Regions from separate parts of the Homo sapiens genome. Here regions 2 and 3 are each linked to region 1. Evidence: promoter capture Hi-C in 16 types of primary human blood cells and fetal thymus (Javierre and others, 2016). All regions are on one chromosome and are shown on one strand. The core of a region is centred on a gene start or on the middle of the fragment in contact, and the rest is flanking DNA. Distances in the headings are between cores, read along the strand shown. Region 1 holds the start of ADAM19 (ADAM metallopeptidase domain 19). Region 2 overlaps CYFIP2 (cytoplasmic FMR1 interacting protein 2). Region 3 has its middle 2.7 kb from the start of CYFIP2.

Region 1 (3,496 bases), core at 928-3,427:
TAGCCGGGTGTGGTGGCACATGCCAATAAGCCCAGCTACTCAGGAGGCTGAGGCAGGAGAATAGCTTGAACCCAGGAAGCAGAGACTGCAGTGAGCCCAGATCGTGCCACTGCATGCCAGCCTGGGCAACAGATAGAGACTCTGAAAAAAAAAAAAAGAAAGAAAAGAAGGAATGAAGGAAGGAAATTAAAAAAGAAAGATAACCAAGAATTATGGTTTGCTTCATGGGGCATCCACCATTTCTGCATCTGCCCTGGGCCACATGATTTCAACATTCTTTCTCCAATGCTTGTATCACCCCTTTCTAATGCTCCCTGAATCAGCTTTACTCTCCTGTTTGCTACCTCATTAATGAGTTGAATAAATCTTGGCCACATTTGTATGAGTCGTGTTTTTAACTTTTGAAAACTTTGTATAGAGTCATTAAAATCATGTTTTACAGAGAATTTGATGATGTGGAAAACGCTCATGGTGTGAAGTGAAAAACGCAAGACACGAAACTGTACTTATGGGTATGGTTCCAATTTTATCAATATATATCCATAGGAACACACAAAGAATGTGGAGGGGAAAAAAAACAAAATATCAACAGCAACTGTGGATTTGGGGGTTGCAGATCATTTTCTTTTACACTTTTCGTTATTTCCCAGATATTCTACAGCAAGTGTTCTCCAAGGACTCAAAACTCAGAGAAGGCGCCTGTGCTAGGAGCAGTAACTAGCTTTCCTTGTCTTTCTTCATGCTTTTCTCCTGCACTAAGCACTGACACAGGCCTGGTGCTACCCTAGAACCTCCTCTGTGCCTCAGTTTCCCCTTCGGAACAACAGCTCAAAGGGCGGTTCCTTTGAGCCCTTTGGGAGGACCGCCCGACCTCGGCCCCTGGAAGTTCCGAACTGTCGGAAGAGCTCTCAGCCTCTGGGTTTGAGGCGGCCCGGGGGTCCAGCCAGCCCACCCTCGCTCCGCCGGTGCTCGCTCTATTTGAAAACGCTGACTGTTGGTCCCCCAAGCAGCAGTCTGGAGTCAGCCCAGCCCGTCTGCAGCGGTGGAGCCAGGGCTAAGCCTTCTCCGGTCATAATGAGAGAACCCGGGCACCGCCCCCCGGGACCAAGCCTTCCGCGAAATCTGCTTATAGCCCCCGAGGGATGGAGCCGGGGAGGGGATTGGTGTCTGGGAAACTAGTCCTGAGAAACACGGACATCACCCGGCATCTTAGCTGGAAACATCGAGTCAGACCCCTTCGCTTCACAGAAGGGGAAACTGAGGACCAAAGAAGGCGGCCGTCGGGTTGGCGTGGAAAGAGAGCCCTGGTTTCCAGTGCCACCGCGGACCTCAACCCGTGGCGTGGCCTTGGGCAAGTCCTTTCCCTTTTGTGGGCCTCGGTTTCCCCATCTGTGAAATGGGTGCGTTTGACTTGGCCTTCAGTAGGGCTCCTGCCAGCTCGGGGATCCGAAGTGTGTGGCTGCAGATACCCAGCGAGCCATCCCCTAGCCAAGGCTACCACAGTCTGCCGCGGGCATTTTATGTCCTACCCCACCAGTGTGGCAGGCACCGAGCCTGGTCCCAGGAAGCCGCTCCCAGGCCACACGGGCAGGGCGCTCGGGATGCTCGGCGTTGGCGAGTGCAGCGGGCGGTAGAGAGAAAGACAGAGAGAGAGGCGGAGCGGACACGAGGGACCGTGAGAAAACGGAGGAGGATAAGCCCCGAGAACGGCGGAAAGAGAAGCCAAAAGCAGAAAAACAGAGGAAGGAGAAGGCGAGAAGGGAAGGCTAGCCAGTGAGCGGACCGGCTGTTTTCTGGCTGCGCCGGGTTTCCCCGACCTCTGCCACCTCCCAGGGCGCAGAACGTGGGAACAAAGCCCGGGCTCCCAGGCTGGGGACGGCGGGGGCGCAGGCCCCGCGGAGTTGCGGGAGGCGCAGGGGTCGCGGTCCCAGCGCTCCGGACCCGCAAGGCTACTCCCAGGTCTCCGGGCCACCCAGCCTCCATCCCCCCGCGCCTGGCCACTTACTTGTCCATCCAGGCTCCCGCGCCGCCCGCGGCCGGAGGGGCTGCAGGGCAAACGCCAGCAAGCAGAGCCGGGCGGCGCCTGCGCCCCCTGGCATGGTGGCGGCGGCCCTTAGCGCTCGGCGCTCACACGCCCTCAGCCATACCTGCCCACTGCCCGGCGGTGGAGGCGCGTCTGGAACCCCCCGGCTCGCCCCGCGCCTCCCCACCCGGCTCCCAGCCCTCTGCCGAGACGCTCCGCCTCCAGCCCCGCGGGCCTCCGCCAGGGGATGGAGGAGGGGAGGCTCCAGCCCGGAGGGGGCTGGAGGGAGGGGCCGGGGAGGAGCTGGCGAGACTCGGGGGAGCGGGGCTGGCTCAGGTGAGGGAGACCGCGGGGAAGGGAGAATCCGAGCCCCCCAGGAGGAGGGATTTGTGGTGGACGCGGCCTGTAGAGGGTCGGGGACTCGGGCTTCTAGGAGTTAAACTGGACCCCTCTCCGCACAGCGGCCCGTTTACTGTCCCGCACTGTGCCAGACGCCTTGGGTGACACTCAGAGGTGATTCACCCAGCGCCGTCCCCCGGGGGCCGCCACTCTCGGAGACAGGCTCAGAAAGAGTTAACCCAACCGCCAGGCACAAAGAACTAAGTGCTATATGGACTTCTTTTTTTTTTTTTTTTTTTTTTTTTTTTTTTTTTTTTAAGCAGGACACAAATCCAGGAGCCATTCCTTCTGCCTGGGAGGAGGGAGTGATGAAGACCAGAGGAATCCCAGAGGAGAAGCCATCTGAGATCGGGAGGAGGAGAAATGGAACATCAGGCGGAGGAAACAGCCCAGACAATCGCACTGGGACGTGAAAACCCTTGGGCTGCATGCGGGGAGAAAACCAGAATTGGGGATGGTTAGGGTTTTGGAGGGAAACACAGGGACATGTGACCAAAAATAATAATAACTACTGTTACTTATTGAGGACTTTCTATGTACTAGAATAAGAAAATCATGATAGCTAAGACTGATAAAACGCTAAGTGTCAAACGCTGTCTTCAGCACTTTACACATATTCACTTATTTAATTAATCGGAGAAAATAACTTTTATGAGCCAGGGACTCTGCATACATTATCTCTTTTCATTAGCCCAGTAATCCCATGGGGTAGGTACTAGTACTATCCCTGTTTTAGAAATGAGGAAATCAAACCTGAGAGGCTAAACCACTTGCCCAAGATTACACAGCTAATGTCAGTGCCTAGATTCAAACCCACATCCGTATAACTCCAGAGCCTGATGCAACACACCTTATTTTCCAGGTGGAGAAACTGATAATGAGAGAGAAATGACTTGCCTAAGATCCCTCAGCAAGTTTTAGCAAAGCCTCGTTGTAGAATCCCAGCCTCAAACCTCGTCCATCTGTTCCTTTTTCTGAGCCTCTTTAGTCAAACCCAGGTTGACTAGAGAAGTGCTAAGTGTTGGAGAGGGCGAGGCACTCCTGAAGATGATGGGTAGGTAGGTCTATCAAACC
Region 2 (3,774 bases), core at 1,141-3,640, 260 kb before region 1:
AAATATAGACATTTAGACCAAAAACAGAACAGCATATAAAATGATTCCACTTATACCAAAATATAATATACTTTTATATATTTGTGCAAAACTGAAGGACATAAATATTTATGATGTATACCAAACCATGAACAGTAGTAATTTCTGGAAACAGGTCTGTCTGATTTATAACCTTTTGTATTGTGTTTTGTTTGATTACAAAATGATGTTTCTATTTGGGAGGAAAACTCCTTTACACTAGGTTGTGAGTGACAGCTATTTCTTTGAGGACCATTTGACACCTACAAGAGACGAATCTAGAAATCAGAGACCTGGATCCCAGCCCCGGGCCCTCTGGTCACTTCAGCTCTCAGAGCCTCAGATTCCTTATCTGTAAAATGGAGCTAATCAACCTTCCCCTGCCCCATCCCAGGGTTATTGTGGAGAATCAAACAATAATTGTCAAGTAAGATAATGGATGTAGATGAGCTCTGAAAACTTAAAGGGCCATACAAATGTAAGAGATTAGAGTCGTCATCTCTCCAAGCTTCACTTTAAAGGACTGAGGCTCGGTGGCATAATTTCATAATCACACTTGACATTGTCCTGAGTGGCTCCAGACCCCTTGGCACTTCTATTACTAATGGGCAACCTGGAAGAAAGTTTTGCAGTCATCACCAGAGGACAAAGTCATCCTCAAGCCTATTTAAAGTGAGACAGTCAGAGGGTAAATGCAACTTTATAAAACTATTTATGCACTTATTTCCTTAATAAAAGGGATGCGTATGCACTGTAAGTGATTCAGAAGATGCTCCCGCAACCCACTTCTACCTTCACCTTCCCACAACCTTATATCGTCATCCAAGCACAACCACCAAGAACATGTCACTCTATTTCCATCTAGTCATTACTTTGCTATACATTGGGAGGTTTTATCATTTTTATCTCATTAATAAAACATGTTTAAAAAAATTAAAAAGAAAAGTAGTTCAATGTGGCCTTTAATAATAAAACAAAGCAAAAGTAGTAACCTGCCTGTACCATGTTATTCCATTCTGAATCCCCAAATAGGAAACACCATTCAACTTGTTAAGCGATTCCTTGTGGTATTTATCTCCCTAGTTCTAACAGGCTTATGAGACTATTTCTTGGTTTTTCAGTTTATGACATTTTCTATTGATTTTCTACTTTGGGAAATGAGGATATAGCTCTCTCCTTCCTACCTCCCATCCCTGCAACACACCTGGTTTCCTTCCCCCATCTTCCCATCGTGGTAATTTTACACTTTTTGGTAAAAATCAATGGTTACCTTATTATTATTATAACCAAGTAACTGTTGTCCATCACTGAGCCACACGCTCTAATGTGAATCCATTTATTTTCTTGCACAACTTTTTGTTCTTCATAGAATTAGCAATACTGTATTTTTTATTTTGTTTTCTATGAGTCTATCAAAAAGGCAACCCCAAACCTACCAACAAAATGTAAAACTCCTTACAAAATAGTCCATCACAGTCATCATTTGATGAGTTTTGGTATTATTCTTTTTTTCTTGGAGGCATTCCTCCACAAGCTCTCTTCTTTCCAATCTGCATGGGTTTGTCTCTAGACCAGCCCCGCCACTGATCCAAGATTCTCCTCATTATTTATTATCTTGGGAATTCCCTTTACCTCTGTCCTGTCCTGTATCCCATTCATATATCTTCCTCTGTGAAGTATTGAGATCTTTTGCCCATTTTTAAAAAATCGGGTTTCTGTCTTCCTATTATGGAATTGTGAGAATTCATTCCATATTTTAGATCACAAGTCTTCAGTCAAATATATGTCGCAAATATTTTTTCTCATCAGTGACTTTGCCTTTTCATTTTTTAAGGGTGCCTTTTGAAGAGCAGCTGTTTTTAATTTTGATGAAGTCCAATTTGTCAGTTATTTGGTGGTTAGTGATTTGGGGGTTTCAGCTAAGAAATCTTTGCCTTGTCTAGAGTTGTAAAGATTTTTCCTTTAGATCCAACAGGCCTGCCCACTCCTCTGTATTTGGAGCCATTCTGAGACATCTTCATTATTTACTCCTTCCTTTTTCCTAATGTCTCCTAGTTATATCTGTAGCCAGGGGCCCAGATTCTGTTATGATCTAACAGTCCTCTAATGCTTCTCTCCCATTATTTCTCTGCACTAAAGCTCATCACCAACAAAATTGTTGTACTGTTGGTGCCAATGAAAACCATCACCTCCTGAGTTGTTTTCATACCAGTTCTATCTAAAAATGTTCTTTTTCTTCCTTTAAGTTTTAGAGAAAAAAACAGCCTTAGGGTCTGAGCTCATTCATTCATTTATTTGTTCCTTTTCAACAGAAAATGTGTCTGCCCACCATGGACCCAGACACTGGCAGTTGGGCGTGCACAGCATAGCTGGGCCCTGTCCTGTGTATTTCCAGTCTGGTGTAGAAGGTGGAACATGCCATTATGGGTGTGATCTGTGTGGCAGTTGTGAGGTGGACGATCTGCCACATGCCTTTCCCTCTGAATTCTGAATCAATTGAGAAATTAATATTAGAGGCCAATGGAGTCAAAGGCTCAGACTTACTGCTGGTAAAGCTAGACTAGAGAATGTGGTTTTCACCCAAGGCCACACCAGTGTTCCTATGCCTCCTACATCTCATTAAACTTGCCACTAGGTAATAGGCAAAGCAGCTGCATAGATACACGCCTCCCTTCCTCGGGATGGGCAGGGGATGGTTACTGCAAGAAGCAGCCAGAAACCTAGAAGGGAGGCCACATACTTGCAGGCAGGCAGGTCCCAAAAGAGCGAGCCAAGGTCAGGCCAGGCTCCTCTCATCACACGTGCCTGAATCCCCATCTCTCCAAACAGATAAGTGAGTTAGGGTAAGGAGAAGGGAAATAGGGGAGTAGAGGCATTCTCCCCCATGACTTCTGCAGGAGAAGTTTTGATTTTATAAACTCAAGCAGCAACTGGCCAAACGGTTTCAAAAACAAAGGTTGTAAAAATTCTTTAGAAAATTTTATGTTAAAAAAGTTCTATTTGATGTTGTCTGTGAGTGCCTGGTCTATGGAGAGGCCTTCAAAAGCCAAGGCACTTCTCAAAATGCTCAAATTGTGGCCCATGGGCCAGCTGCTATTTGTCAGCAGTGAACAACAAAATTGGGAGCTCATGCGAGGATGAAAATCAGTTGCATTGCGAAGAATGCTGTTAGTTGAGCTGACATTTGTGTTTTGTAGCAAGACTTTCTCAATGAATGAAGCCAAGTGCTGATATACGTACATTCTGGCACACATCTCTTACCTAGCCATGCGCTGGCACTTTGAGTAGCACTGGCCTCATGCCTCTGGACATCTCACTCCCCGCCTCCCCTGGCAGGGCGGTGATGGGTAGTAGACAGCTGGTGTGCTGGACATGGTGAACATGACCCTTGGCCTCTTCCTGCCCAGGTGATCGCCATGATCAAAGGCCTGCAGGTGCTCATGGGCAGGATGGAGAGCGTCTTCAACCAGGCCATCAGGAACACCATCTACGCGGCATTGCAGGACTTCGCCCAGGTGACGCTGCGTGAGCCCCTGCGGCAGGCGGTACGGAAGAAGAAGAATGTCCTCATCAGGTGGGTTTTCAGATGCCTTCAGGAGCATATCAGACATAAGCATGCCAGGTACCCATCAGAGAGGATGTCCTGGCTCAGCCACTGAACACACATGGGTCCTTCCAGCAAGCTCCAGAGGGCTCTTTAGGAGATTGGGCATTTGGGATGAATTAAGCCTTCATCTCTAGAAGTCCATATCCACT
Region 3 (3,661 bases), core at 519-3,018, 310 kb before region 1:
CAGGCCAGGCGTGGTGGCACACACCTGTAATCCTGGCACTTTGGGAGGCCGAGACGGGAGGATCACCTGAGATCAGGAGTTCGAGACCAGCCTGGCTAACATGGTGAAACTACATCTTTACTAAAAATACAAAAATTAGCCAGGTGTAGGGGCACATGCCCATAATCCCAGCTACTCGGGAGGCTGAGGCAGGAGAATCACTTGAACCTGGGAGGCGGAGGTTGCAGTGAGCCAAGATCATGCCACTGCACTCCAGCCTGGGCGACAGAGTGAGACTCTGTCTCAAAAAGAAAATCATAATAATAATCCCATTTTTGAGCATTTATTATGTACCAGACTCTGCTTAGTGTGTTACATTATCATTTCATATAACCTTCACAAGAATCTAAGGGATATACTTTTTTGTTTTGTTTTGTTTTGCTTTGTTTTGATACAGTGTTTTGCTCTGTTGCCCAGGCTGGAATGCAGCCGCACCATCTTTGCTCACTGCAACCTCCACCTCCTGGGCTCAAGCAATTCTCTTGCCTATAAAATGAGGCAATTTTGAGCAAGTGGTCAGGTTCTATCTACAGAATGGCCAATGTAAATTCTGTAACTGACCATCAAGTTTATCTTTTCCTGCCACCCACATAAATACTTAGAACCAAATGTGTTAGCAAGCTCATAGCAGGTAGAGCTGTGATTGATTTTTGTTTTGTTTACATTTTGGTCTTATGTACATTCGATTCTCCATCTCATCTCTCTACTCTTTTCCTTCTTTTTAAAAAATTTCTTGCTGATTTTTAATTTTTTAACATAATGTATTCCTGTAACTTACATTTAATATGTTTTTAGAATAAGGTAGCATATTAGTAAACAAATGGACTTAGCTTGGAAGAGGGAAAGTGAGGCTGTATGAGATTGTGGTAAAAAGCATGGGTTTGACTTCACTACCTTGGGCAAATTATTAAACCTTAATTGCCTCAATTATAAAAATGGGAAAAATGATTGTATTTTCCTTATAGAAAAATTACGAAAAATTAAATGAGGTAATGTACTTGGTAAATGTTAGCCATTATTATTATTATCATTATTTATGTTTTCCCTTCATGCCCATTCCAGATACTTCATTACTGGTGTCTATAAAGCAGGGTCTCCTGATAGTTTTAAAATACATATATATATATATATTTTTTTTTTTTTTGAGACAGAGTTTTGCTCTTGTTGCCCAGGCTGGAGTGCAACAGTGTGATCTCGGCTCACTACAACTTCCACCTCCCGGGTTCAAGCAATTCTGCCTCACCCTCCTGAGTAGCTGGGATTACAGGCGCTCGCCACCATGCCCAGCTAATTTTTTGTATTTTTAGTAGAAACTGGGTTTCACTATGTTGGCCAGGCTGGTCTCGAACTCCTGACCTCAGGCAATCCACCTGCCTCGGCCTCCCAAAGTGCTGGGATTATAACTTGAAGCTTTTCTAAAACACAAGGTAATGTTGCCACATGGACAACATGTGGGCCACAGCTTTGCAAGTACCAAAGCAATTCTTATTGATATCCTCTACCATTTCATTGCTGATGCACAGCTTGGGGTTGGATGTGAAGGAAATCTGAAGGCAGTAGACAGACAGCTATACATTTCAGTGGCAAAGTTTAAAAATGTCACCTATGGGTGTTCATTCCATCCATTTTTACTGAACTCCTGTTAAGTACCAGGCTCCAAGGATGCAATGGGAAAGCAAGACAGACATATCCCTGCTCCCTTAGATTTTATGGTCTCATGGTGGAATACAGGGAAGTGTGTTGACAATTATAATGCAGACTAATACGTGGGGTGATAGAGGGAGCCCAGGCAGCTAAGGACACATAGACAACTAATCTCAAGCTAACCCAGACATGTAGGAATCTTGGAGGAAGCGACATCTAGAGGAATACCAGGAAGATGAACAGAACTTCATCAGGTAAACTGGGAAAAAGTGTGGAATGTGGAGGGAGGGAATGGGGGGACAGAAACTGCCATTGAAGAAGCCTTGCATGTACGAATGTCGAGCACAACAGAGAACACAGCAAGTTTGAGGAACTAAAAGCTGTTCCTTTTAGCTGAAGCACAGCAAGCTTGTTCACATGGAGAGATAGCTGCCAGCTCTTAAAGACCCTCTCCGGCCACTGGAGAGTTTGGGCTTCATCGGGGGGCAGTGGGGAGCTAGGGAAGTGCCTTAAGCCTGGGAGGGACGTGCCCTTTAACTCATGTAATTTTCCACATTCAGAGGGAAGTTGGAGAGCATCCAACTTACTTCACTTAACAGGTGAGGAAACAGGGGTGAGGCTCCTTGCCTAAGATCATTCTTCTGTTAGTTGCAAAACTAGAACCAAAAGGCAAGCCTCTGGATTTCCAACACAGTGGCTTCAAAAGACCATACTGCTCTCCTTTATACACAAATAGAACTCAGAGGTCGGAGTTATTTTTGCCTAAGATCTAACCAAATATATATGTAATAGTCTTTTCTGTTTTTAGGCAACTTGTTCCTGAAGGTGAAAAGACAGGGAAGGAACAACAGGGAGAAATACGTCTTCCAAAAAACTATACCATCTGCAATAATATGCCCCTTAGAATGAAAATCTGATTTATTGGGATTCTCATTGTTAAGTATTTGTAATCACTGAACTTGAAATCCCAAGGATCACGGTGGAAAATGAAACATTTTTTAAAAAGGAAACCTCAGTTCTGTTTTTAAACCCATCCTCCACAAACACCCCCACAGCTTTTCACACTGAACCAGGGAAGAAATGTATGTGTGTGTATATATATATATATATAAGTCATTTTTTTCCGAAATAGCAATTTGAATTGGAATTAGCGATTTAAGATCAAACCACAAGGAATTATGGATTCTGAGCACGTGGGAAATAAGGTGAGATCAGTAAAGGAAAGCAAAGGCTTCCACAAGTCCTTTGCTGGAGCTTGAATAACGGGGCTCCTCCACAAATTGCCCTTATTAGGAACAGCTGAGTGATTAAGTATAAATTTGTGGGCCTTAGGAAACCACTCCTTATATCTACATACACTCCACAATGTCTCAAATGTTTTCAAATTATTTACCCTGTAAGGTATAAAGGGCAACTGTTATTCCCTGTGTTGCAGATACGGTGACCTCTGTGGAGCAGAGTGGTGAAGTGACCTGCTCAGGTGTCTCAAGGTTAGAATTTGGTGCAGCCTGACTTCAGCCTGGTCTGAAGGCCTACCAGGCTGGATTTCAATGAGAATTGTTTCTTTCTCTTTTTCTTTTCTCTCTTTCTTTCTCTTCTTTCTTTCCTTCTCTTCTTTCTCTCTCTTTCTTTTTCTTTCTTCCTTTCTCTCTCTCTCTCTCCCCCCGTCTCTCTCTTTCATTCTTTTTTTTTTTTTTTTGAGACAGAGTCTCACTCTGTCACCCAGTCTGGAGTGCGGCGGCAGGATCATAGCTCACTGTAGCCTCAATCTCCCAGGCTCAAGCAATCCTCCCACCTCAGCCTCCTGAGTAGCTGGGACAAAAGGTGGATGCCACCACACCCATCTATTTTTTTTTTTTTTTAATTTTTAGTAGAGATGAAGTTTCGTTGAGTTGCCCAGGATGGTCTCCAATTCCTGAGCTCAAGCAATCCTCTCTCCTCGGCCTCCCAAAGTTTTGGTATTACAGGTGTGAGCCAC

Evidence for each region. The method cuts DNA at HindIII sites, captures the fragments that hold promoters and counts their contacts. A CHiCAGO score of 5 or more calls a contact.
Region 2: a contact is called between a fragment that was not itself captured here and the fragment with the promoter of ADAM19 in region 1, in 2 of 17 cell types (neutrophils and activated CD4 T cells). The highest score is 6.8, in neutrophils.
Region 3: a contact is called between a fragment that was not itself captured here and the fragment with the promoter of ADAM19 in region 1, in 1 of 17 cell types (neutrophils). The highest score is 5.9, in neutrophils.

The regions. Positions count from the first base shown.
Region 1 is chr5:157,573,598-157,577,093 of GRCh38, forward strand. It overlaps ADAM19 (ADAM metallopeptidase domain 19), which reads right to left and starts at 2,178. Exons shown (of 23, transcript NM_033274.5): 1 at 2,006-2,178. The coding sequence starts at 2,099. LOC124901121 (a long non-coding RNA gene) reads left to right here and starts at 1,382. Exons shown (of 2, transcript XR_007059018.1): 1 at 1,382-1,773; 2 at 2,683-3,013. RefSeq lists enhancers at 874-1,403, 1,640-1,719 and a silencer at 1,890-2,329. The HindIII fragment of the contact is 8,826 bases long and covers 1-3,496 here.
Region 2 is chr5:157,316,337-157,320,110 of GRCh38, forward strand. It overlaps CYFIP2 (cytoplasmic FMR1 interacting protein 2), which reads left to right. Exons shown (of 31, transcript NM_001037333.3): 14 at 3,426-3,592. Among named protein-coding and RNA genes, the nearest start is that of FNDC9, 27 kb to the right of the region's middle. The HindIII fragment of the contact is 3,732 bases long and covers 525-3,774 here.
Region 3 is chr5:157,261,624-157,265,284 of GRCh38, forward strand. No RefSeq gene overlaps it. Among named protein-coding and RNA genes, the nearest start is that of CYFIP2, 2.7 kb to the right of the region's middle. The HindIII fragment of the contact is 642 bases long and covers 1,448-2,089 here.